Linked DNA regions of Homo sapiens: region 2 is linked to region 1. The links are contacts of gene promoters, found by promoter capture Hi-C in blood cells and fetal thymus (Javierre and others, 2016). All regions are on one chromosome and are shown on one strand. Each heading gives the region's core, a stretch centred on a gene start or on the middle of the fragment in contact. The rest is flanking DNA. Distances are from core to core; before and after follow the strand shown. Region 1 holds the start of FBXW4 (F-box and WD repeat domain containing 4). Region 2 has its middle 14 kb from the start of LINC01514.

The links. The method cuts DNA at HindIII sites, captures the fragments that hold promoters and counts their contacts. A CHiCAGO score of 5 or more calls a contact.
Region 2: a contact is called between a fragment that was not itself captured here and the fragment with the promoter of FBXW4 in region 1, in 1 of 17 cell types (endothelial precursors). The highest score is 6.3, in endothelial precursors.

Annotation. Positions count from the first base shown.
Region 1 is chr10:101,693,428-101,697,210 of GRCh38, forward strand. It overlaps FBXW4 (F-box and WD repeat domain containing 4), which reads right to left and starts at 1,743. Exons shown (of 9, transcript NM_022039.4): 1 at 954-1,743. The coding sequence starts at 1,678. RefSeq lists an enhancer at 423-502 and silencers at 813-1,272, 1,553-1,602, 1,633-1,912. The HindIII fragment of the contact is 5,074 bases long and covers 480-3,783 here.
Region 2 is chr10:101,160,774-101,164,556 of GRCh38, forward strand. No RefSeq gene overlaps it. Among named protein-coding and RNA genes, the nearest start is that of LINC01514, 14 kb to the right of the region's middle. The HindIII fragment of the contact is 3,083 bases long and covers 47-3,129 here.

The DNA.
Region 1 (3,783 bases), core at 493-2,992:
TATGCGACAGCCCACAAACATTTACTATGTACCTATTCTGTTAGGATCAGTAAGATAGCAATTATATGTGCAACTGAAAAGGTTTTTAAATGAAAATAATTGTCTAGAGGTGATGGTATTATGGCTTTTTATGTTTTTAAAAACGTTATTTAATGTTGTCATAATGTACTAGAAAGAACTACTTTTTAAAAAATGGGTGGAATAGGGGGCAATCTGAAAGCTCTTATTCCCCCAATTCCCTACATGTTTTTTCCTTCCTATTTAACAGTTTAAGTGGTTCAGAAAAGTTTTTCATTCACAGGTCTCAGACCCTACCAAAAACAGGCCAAATTGCAATACCATGTCTTGTACACATCCTGGACAGACTCCAGCCTCCTGCCTCAAGCAGGCCCCCTTTTTCGTGTCGCTCTGCCTATATGAAGTCATAAACTATGGCTGAACACTGGGACCGAGGGCTTCTCTTAAGGTCCGAGCCCTGAAGCTTAACAACCTTTAGAAAAGGGTAGGGAGGATGAAAGATGAAAGTCCACAAAAATTTATGATAGACCACTTAAGGAACCTGAGTCCTAGACCTGGACTCAAGGAATCGTCCAAAGCACCGTACCAGACTGGCTCCTCTGGGGCGAAGGAACCGGGGCAGCTAAACCTCTGCAAAAACACACAATCGAAAGCTGTAGGGAGTGCCTAAGATGGCTAATTGTGAGGAGCGGCCCACCCGGGAGGGTGCCTACTGAGGGATGCTCTCGGGAGGCTGCCTCAGATGGAGGCCTTGGGGAGGAGGGGCAAAGGGGTCCCCGAGAGTGCTCGGGAAAGGGTGTAGGCGGAGGTCAGGTGTAGGCCTAGAAACTCGGGGTGCGACACGACCCTGGGCCGACCAGGCCGCGGCGCCCCGCCCTTTCCCGGGACGCGGGGCCGGCTCGGGGCGGGGAGCGGGCGGGCGAGCGGACGCTTACAGGTCGGTGCCGAGCCGCGTGAAGCCGGAGTTGAGCGAGGCCCGGGCTATCCGGCGCCAGAGCAGATCGCAGCTGGTGAAGCGCCGCAGCCAGCGGCACACCTGGGCCAGGCGGCCGAGGGCCCGCATGTCCAGGTAGGAGCAGATGAGCAGCAGCAGCTCCTCCGGCAGGCGCCAGAGCGCAGGCCCCGCGGCCGGGCGGGCAGCCGACTCCCGAGCCGCCTCCTCCTCCTCCTCCTCCTCCCCGGCCGCCGCCGCCATGGCCACCCCTGTCCCCGCGATGTCGGCCCAAGCCTGACCCCCTCGTCCCTGTGCTCTTCCCGGCCTGGCGCCCTCCCGCCGCCTAGCCCTGACCCTCCATTCCTCCTTCTTCCCATACTCTCTTCCTTGTGCCTCCTTCCCGGCCCCTGCGCTCCCCTCGACTCCCTTGACGATGCCTCTCGCCCCTTCCTCCACGCTTCTGCCTCCCTCTGCTTCCTCCCTTGGGCATGCCCTCGCTCCCGCGTCAGCCCCCGGCCCGGCTGCCTCCTTCGCCGTCTGCGGCCCGGGCTTCCCTTCCGCCCCGCTTCCTCTTCCGCCTTGCCCCGCTCTCGCTTTTCCCTTCCCCTTCCCCTTCCTTCGCTTCCCCCTCGCCACCCTCCCTTCCTGCAGCTTCCTCGCCTCTCCGCCCTCGCCCTCGCCGGGCCCGCCGTTCCCGGGGGGCCCCGAGCGGCCCTGGCTGCCCATGAGCGGCCGCGGGGCCGGCCCGACGCGGAGCCCAGCCCGAGCCGCCACCGCCGCCGCCCCGGGAGGAGGCGACACCATGTCGGACCGGGTCACATGGGGCGGCGCGGGCCGAGCCCTGGGCACGCCCCTCACACCTGCAGCCTTGGAGCCACTTCGGGGTGCGGGCTGGGGCCGGGGCGCTGACACCACCCCCGCATCCCCGAGAGCGCTTGGTGGAAGCACAGGAGTTCGCGCTGCAAACACGTGAGGCCGGTTTCAGGGCCCTGCCTGAGGCCACAAGAGGACCCGCTGCCCTCAGGAAGCGGCCATTTGGAGCACCTGCCCTCAAGAAGCCCCTAGTTGGGTGGCCTTGCCCCTCTAGAAGCCCTCCTCTTCCTCGAGTGATGCCTCCTTTCCACGGGCCACATGTGAGGGCCCAACGAATCTGCAGCCCTAGAAGTTGACAGGTTCCATAGCTTAGGTTCTCACACAGGCCCGGAAGCACGGTCCTGGCGTGAGCTTGGGTGTTAGACGTATTTGGGGATTTGCAGTCTTCTAGATCCTGAGTCCATAACTTCAAAAACAGTCATGTATCAGGAAATGGCACAGCTAGGGCTTCTTATCAGTCACCACCCAAGTGCAAGTGGATTCTCCAAGGACTCAGCATCCATTCTTCATACCACCCATTCGATTCACATGGCATTAATCTGAAGGGAGAGCTACTGAGGTCTAGACCTGTGCTGTCCAACAGTGTCCTCCCTCGTCACATGTGGCTGCTGAGCATTTGAAATGTGGCTAATACAAATTGAAATGAGCTATAAGTGAGAAATGCACACCAGATTTTGAAGCCATACAAAAAAAAGAATGCAAAATATCTCATTAATAATTTTATATTGATTACGTGTTGAAGTGTTAATATTTTGGATACGCTGTATTGGGCTAAATACAATATATTTTAATGTAACTACTAGAAAATTTAAAATTATACATGGGACTTGCATTTGTGGCTCGGGTTATTTTTCTATTAGCATTGGGCTAGGCAGTAAAACTTGGAGGAGGGGAGGAAGATGCCAATTTCTGTCTGTTTATCCTGTACTCCAAATCCAGGTAGGAAGGATTGGAGAGTTTTCTTTTGTACTTATCTACATCTTAACACTCATTTTCAGGGAGCAGGGAAGAATAAAAATTGACCCTGAAAATTATTCAACACCTAGCATAGCCAAAGAGAAACCTAGGGAAGCAACTACATTGTATTATGGTGCTGCAAGAAGCATCATGTAACAAGGTCAGACCGGAATCTGGCTTTGCCCTAGAATTACTTTTTGATCTTAGCAAAACAACAACAAAAAGCCCCACCTATCTTGGCCTTTTAGTGTTCTCAATCTGTAGTGGAGATAATGCCTCTGCCTTACTTTCGAGGGATAAATGAGATGATCCCTGTAAAATGCTTTGAACTCCTCTAAGAAAATTCTTAATAATAGTTACAGGTCAAATCCTGTTACAAAAAAATGCCATCCCTCCCCCTCTCCAAATGCAACAAAGACTTTGTGTAGAAAACGATTTCCAAACTCAAGGCAGTGGTTTATTGAAAGCACTATTTTATAGATTTCAATGCGGCCAAAGAATTTAAGCCATGTTTTAGAGATCATTATAAAGAAATTTACTTATTCACAGGTACCATACTGTTAGAAGACTACTAAGGCAGGAATACTTCACATTTAGGTGATGTCATGAGTTCAATATTTATTGATTTTGCTACATTTGTGTACTATGAGCGAATCAAGAAGGAAGACAAATGATATAGCAGGAATATGGTTCCTGCATTTTGTGTTTAGATTTGTGTTAGAGATGTTTGTAATTTCTTACTGTTTGAGTACTTAACTCATTCAGGATACATAGTAAAGCTGAGTAGTTCATCTATATTCTATCTCATTTTTAGTGGAGGCACTAAAACTTCTTTAACCCAACATAAATCAGGATTAAAATCCATAATCATGCAAGTGTAATTTACTTTATTTTCATTAATGGAGAATTTTTTTTTGAGACAGAGTCTGGCTCTGTCGCCCAGGCTGGAGTGCAGTGGCGCAATCTCGGCTCACTGCAAGCTCCACCACCCGGGTTCACGC
Region 2 (3,783 bases), core at 338-2,837, 530 kb before region 1:
AATGGCTTGAATTTTGAATTGCATGAATATATTATTTATTCAAAAAAGCTTAAGAGCACACATTTGGAACTGCAGACTTGGACTGCCATCCCAGCCCTGCCACATCCATCTTCCTCTGTAACGATGACTGCTGGACGTCTTCCCAGCGCCCTGAGAGGATGCAGAAGTTGCTTCTGTAGCACTTGGGGAGCTGGAGTTTTGTTGGTACTGCTGCCATCTCCACCAGATGATGAATGGGGAGAAACCTCTGGCTGGGAGAGGCCAAGGTCACTCATTAAAACCTCACAGAAGGTAACACACTGAGAGACAGACAGTGTGACCCCTGACCCCACTGACGTTGGCCCCAAGTCAGCCAGCAGGTTCACACACCCTCTCAGGGTTCACTTGCTGGGTGATGTTATCCAATGGACCCTCTTTCCTGACTTCAGTGACCACACCCAAGACCTGCAGGGACTCCAGACAGTTATGTCATAAAATTCACCACACAGGGCACAGAATTCCCCCATGTTTCCACTCTCTCTATATCTTACCAGTAAGGGAAGGGCAGAAATATGAAGGAATATAACCTGTAGTCATTTGGTATTTTCCAAGGGAAACTGCTTGTGATTGTGAGGTTAGTGATCTTTGCAGACATTCTCTCTAAAGTGAGTGTAGCCTTGGGCAATGCATGCTCTGGGCTATTCATTTAGGTGCCCCTGTAACCAAGCTCTGCATGCAGGAATGCTCTCTCATTCATCATTTATTCATTTGACAAACATTCATTCAGCCCCTTCTCTCTGCTAGGTATGTAAAGGAGAGCCAAGCTGCCTGAAGAAACGAGGGTCCATAGGTGAAGACAATTAAATAAACTCATCAGACTAAAGTGCAACACGTGCTGGAGAGACAGCCAACCTTTGTAGAAGTGCAAAGCACTTGACCCAGGGGCTGGGGTCAGCGGGACGTCTGGGAGGAAGTAAGCTAGCTTCAGCTAGCACCTGACAGTGGAGAGTGGAAGGCAAGCGCCGGTGAAAAGGAGCTGTTGTGAAGGTGGGATGTAAATGGCTTAGCCAGGGCCCAACACATTGTGTGTGCTCCATCGGTTCCCAGTGTTCAGAGGAAGGAATTCCCCCAGATGCCTGAGTTCAGGGCTGCTATCACCCTGAATGGCCACAAGGGGGAGCTCGTGCCCTGTAATTGTGTGTTTCAGCGCCTGTGCCGTGTGCCGCAAGGTACCAGTTGTTTCCACTAAAGATCGGTTACTTGCATCTTACAAAGTTGTTAGGAAGCGTCTCCCGGACATTTGCAGCCCCTGCTAAGCGTAGTGTGTTCCAGAGCCTAAGTGGCTCTGATAGCCTTGTCCTAGTGTTTTCTCGTAAAGCCGAGGATTCTTTCCTCTAAATTCTCGGGAATAGAGCCAATTACCCAAGTAGCCACCGATCATGTCCTTTTAATCCTTCCTGGTTCTTCCCATTCCTTCTGGGCATCCACAGGGCCCATCCCCTAGAGCAGCACCAATGGGGTTGGAGCACTGGCTACTGACACGTCTGGACCCTCCAGGCCAGAAAGGCTTCATTTCTCTGCACTTGCTAACCCCCAGCCAAGCCCCTAGTCCTTTCCAAGATGGGATAAAGGGGCATTCTCCCTCAAATGTCTTTCCTGAGTTAGGAATGTGCTCTTGTCATTTTGAACCCCATGATCTCTGCCCCAGTGGCTTCCAGAAAGGATCTGATGGCCACGTGCTTTGGAGTGAGACAGACCTTTTGTCCCGTCCTCACTCTGTTGTTGACCTTGTGTAAGCCACATAACCTCCATGGCTGTCATCCATGAAATATAAAGATTAAAAGATCTACCATCTTACTTGATGGGATGGTTGAAAGGACCAGTGTCCCAGGAAAAAAAAAAATACTCACAAACGACCTTATTCCTTTCCTCCCCTCACCCATGGAAGATCTTTAAGTGCATACTGAGGCTGACATACAGGTAACTCCGAAAAGGAGAGGGATCTGTTTCCTGACAGATGGCTTCAAGCCAAAGAGATAAACCTGGGTTCAGGCAGGGCTGGCAGGAAGTCAGGCACTCCCTTTCTAACTCTCTCCCTAGAGGAGTCTGGCTGAGGTTGAGAACTGACAAGGTCAGAAAAGGGACAGGGGAGGGATTTCCAGTGGGGAAGCACAGACATTGGAGGGCTTCTCCAGTCATTTACTGGGTCACCATCTGCCCCCTCAAGGAAGCAGGATCAAGACCTCCCGTGTGCCCAGCTCCGTACATGGCAGATAGAGGGCAGCCTCCTGGGCCAAGAGTGACCAGGGCCTTCATCTTCTTGGCATGGGTTCCATCAGGAACACGTTACAACCAACTGATGATTTATCCACCTTTAGAAGGGGACTGAGGCCATCCCAAAGGTGCCCTATATGAACTGCAGTTTGCCCCTCAGTAAAAATTACTTCACTGAGTTGCAAGCAGTGCATGGTGGCACACACCTGTAGTCTCGGCTACTAGGGAGGCTGAGGCGGGACGGTCACTTGAGCCCAGAAGATCAAGTCCAGCATGGGCAACATGGTAAGATCCCTTCTCAAAAATAAAAAATAAATTAAAATTTTTAAAAAATGAATATTTTCATTATCAGACAGATCAAGAAACAGAACATCAAAGTTGTAGTGAGCTATGATAATGCTACTGCACTGCAGCCTGGGTGACAGAGTGAGACCCTGTTTAGAAAGAGAGCGAGAGGAAGGAAGGAAGGGAGGGAGGAAGGGAGGGAGGAAGGAAGGGAGGGAGGGAGAGAGGAAGGAAGGAAGGGAGGGAGGAAGGAAGGGAGGGAGGGAGGAAGGAAGGAAGGGAGGGAGGGAGGGAGGGAGGGAAGGAAAACATTATCTGCACCCCAGGATCTCTCTGTATATCCCTTCCCCATCAGCCCCTCCTTTCTCCCTACATACAATTATGATCTTCACTTATGGTGAAGTTTTCCTTGTTTTTCTTTATAGTTTTACTCTTTGCGGAAGCATTCTTTTTGAATATAGTGTGTTTGTATGTTTTCAAAATTCCTACAAGAGGAATTATACTACATATATTCTTTTATGACTTCCTCCTTTCCTTTGACATTGTGGGATGATTTTATTTTTTTTATTGTGGAAAATTAGACACCACATAAGCTTACCATGTGAACCTTTTTTCTCCCAGCTTTACTGAGGAATAATTGACAAATAAAAATTGTATATGTTTAAGGTGTACAACTTGAAGTTTTGATATATGTATATGTCAACTGAAGAATGAAGAGGTTCAGACATTTGGAAAGGAGTGCTTTATTTCTCATAGAGCATTGCAGCCTGCCAGCCGTTCTGACAGGCTGGGAAGTGTAGCCTCTGGCCAGAAGCCAGAAACAGGCACTTCAAGGGTCAAGGATGGGAAGAATAAGACAAGAATTTATGCTGAGTAGGGTGGCCAAATATACATATTCAATAAGCTCTGGGAGGAGTCATGAATATTTACGAAAAGAGAAACATGTGCATGTGCAATTGAGCTTCATGGATCCCATGTTCAAAAAAACCGGCATGATCCCAGGGTGGAGTTTCAGCTCTCTGATGTCAAAAGATGAAGCAGAGGACATGAAAACCCTCACTGTTTCCTCCGCAGACTGGCCAGAACCACTCTGTGGTCAGTGGTCTCTGATCAGGAAGGGATATTGGTTGGTTATTGTGTCAGACCACAGAAAGTGAGGGGCAGCGTCAGGCAGTTAGTTGATATCAGCTGGCGGAGTCTTCCAAACAGGCTGGTTTCTGTTTAACCCTTAAGGAAGAAAACCTA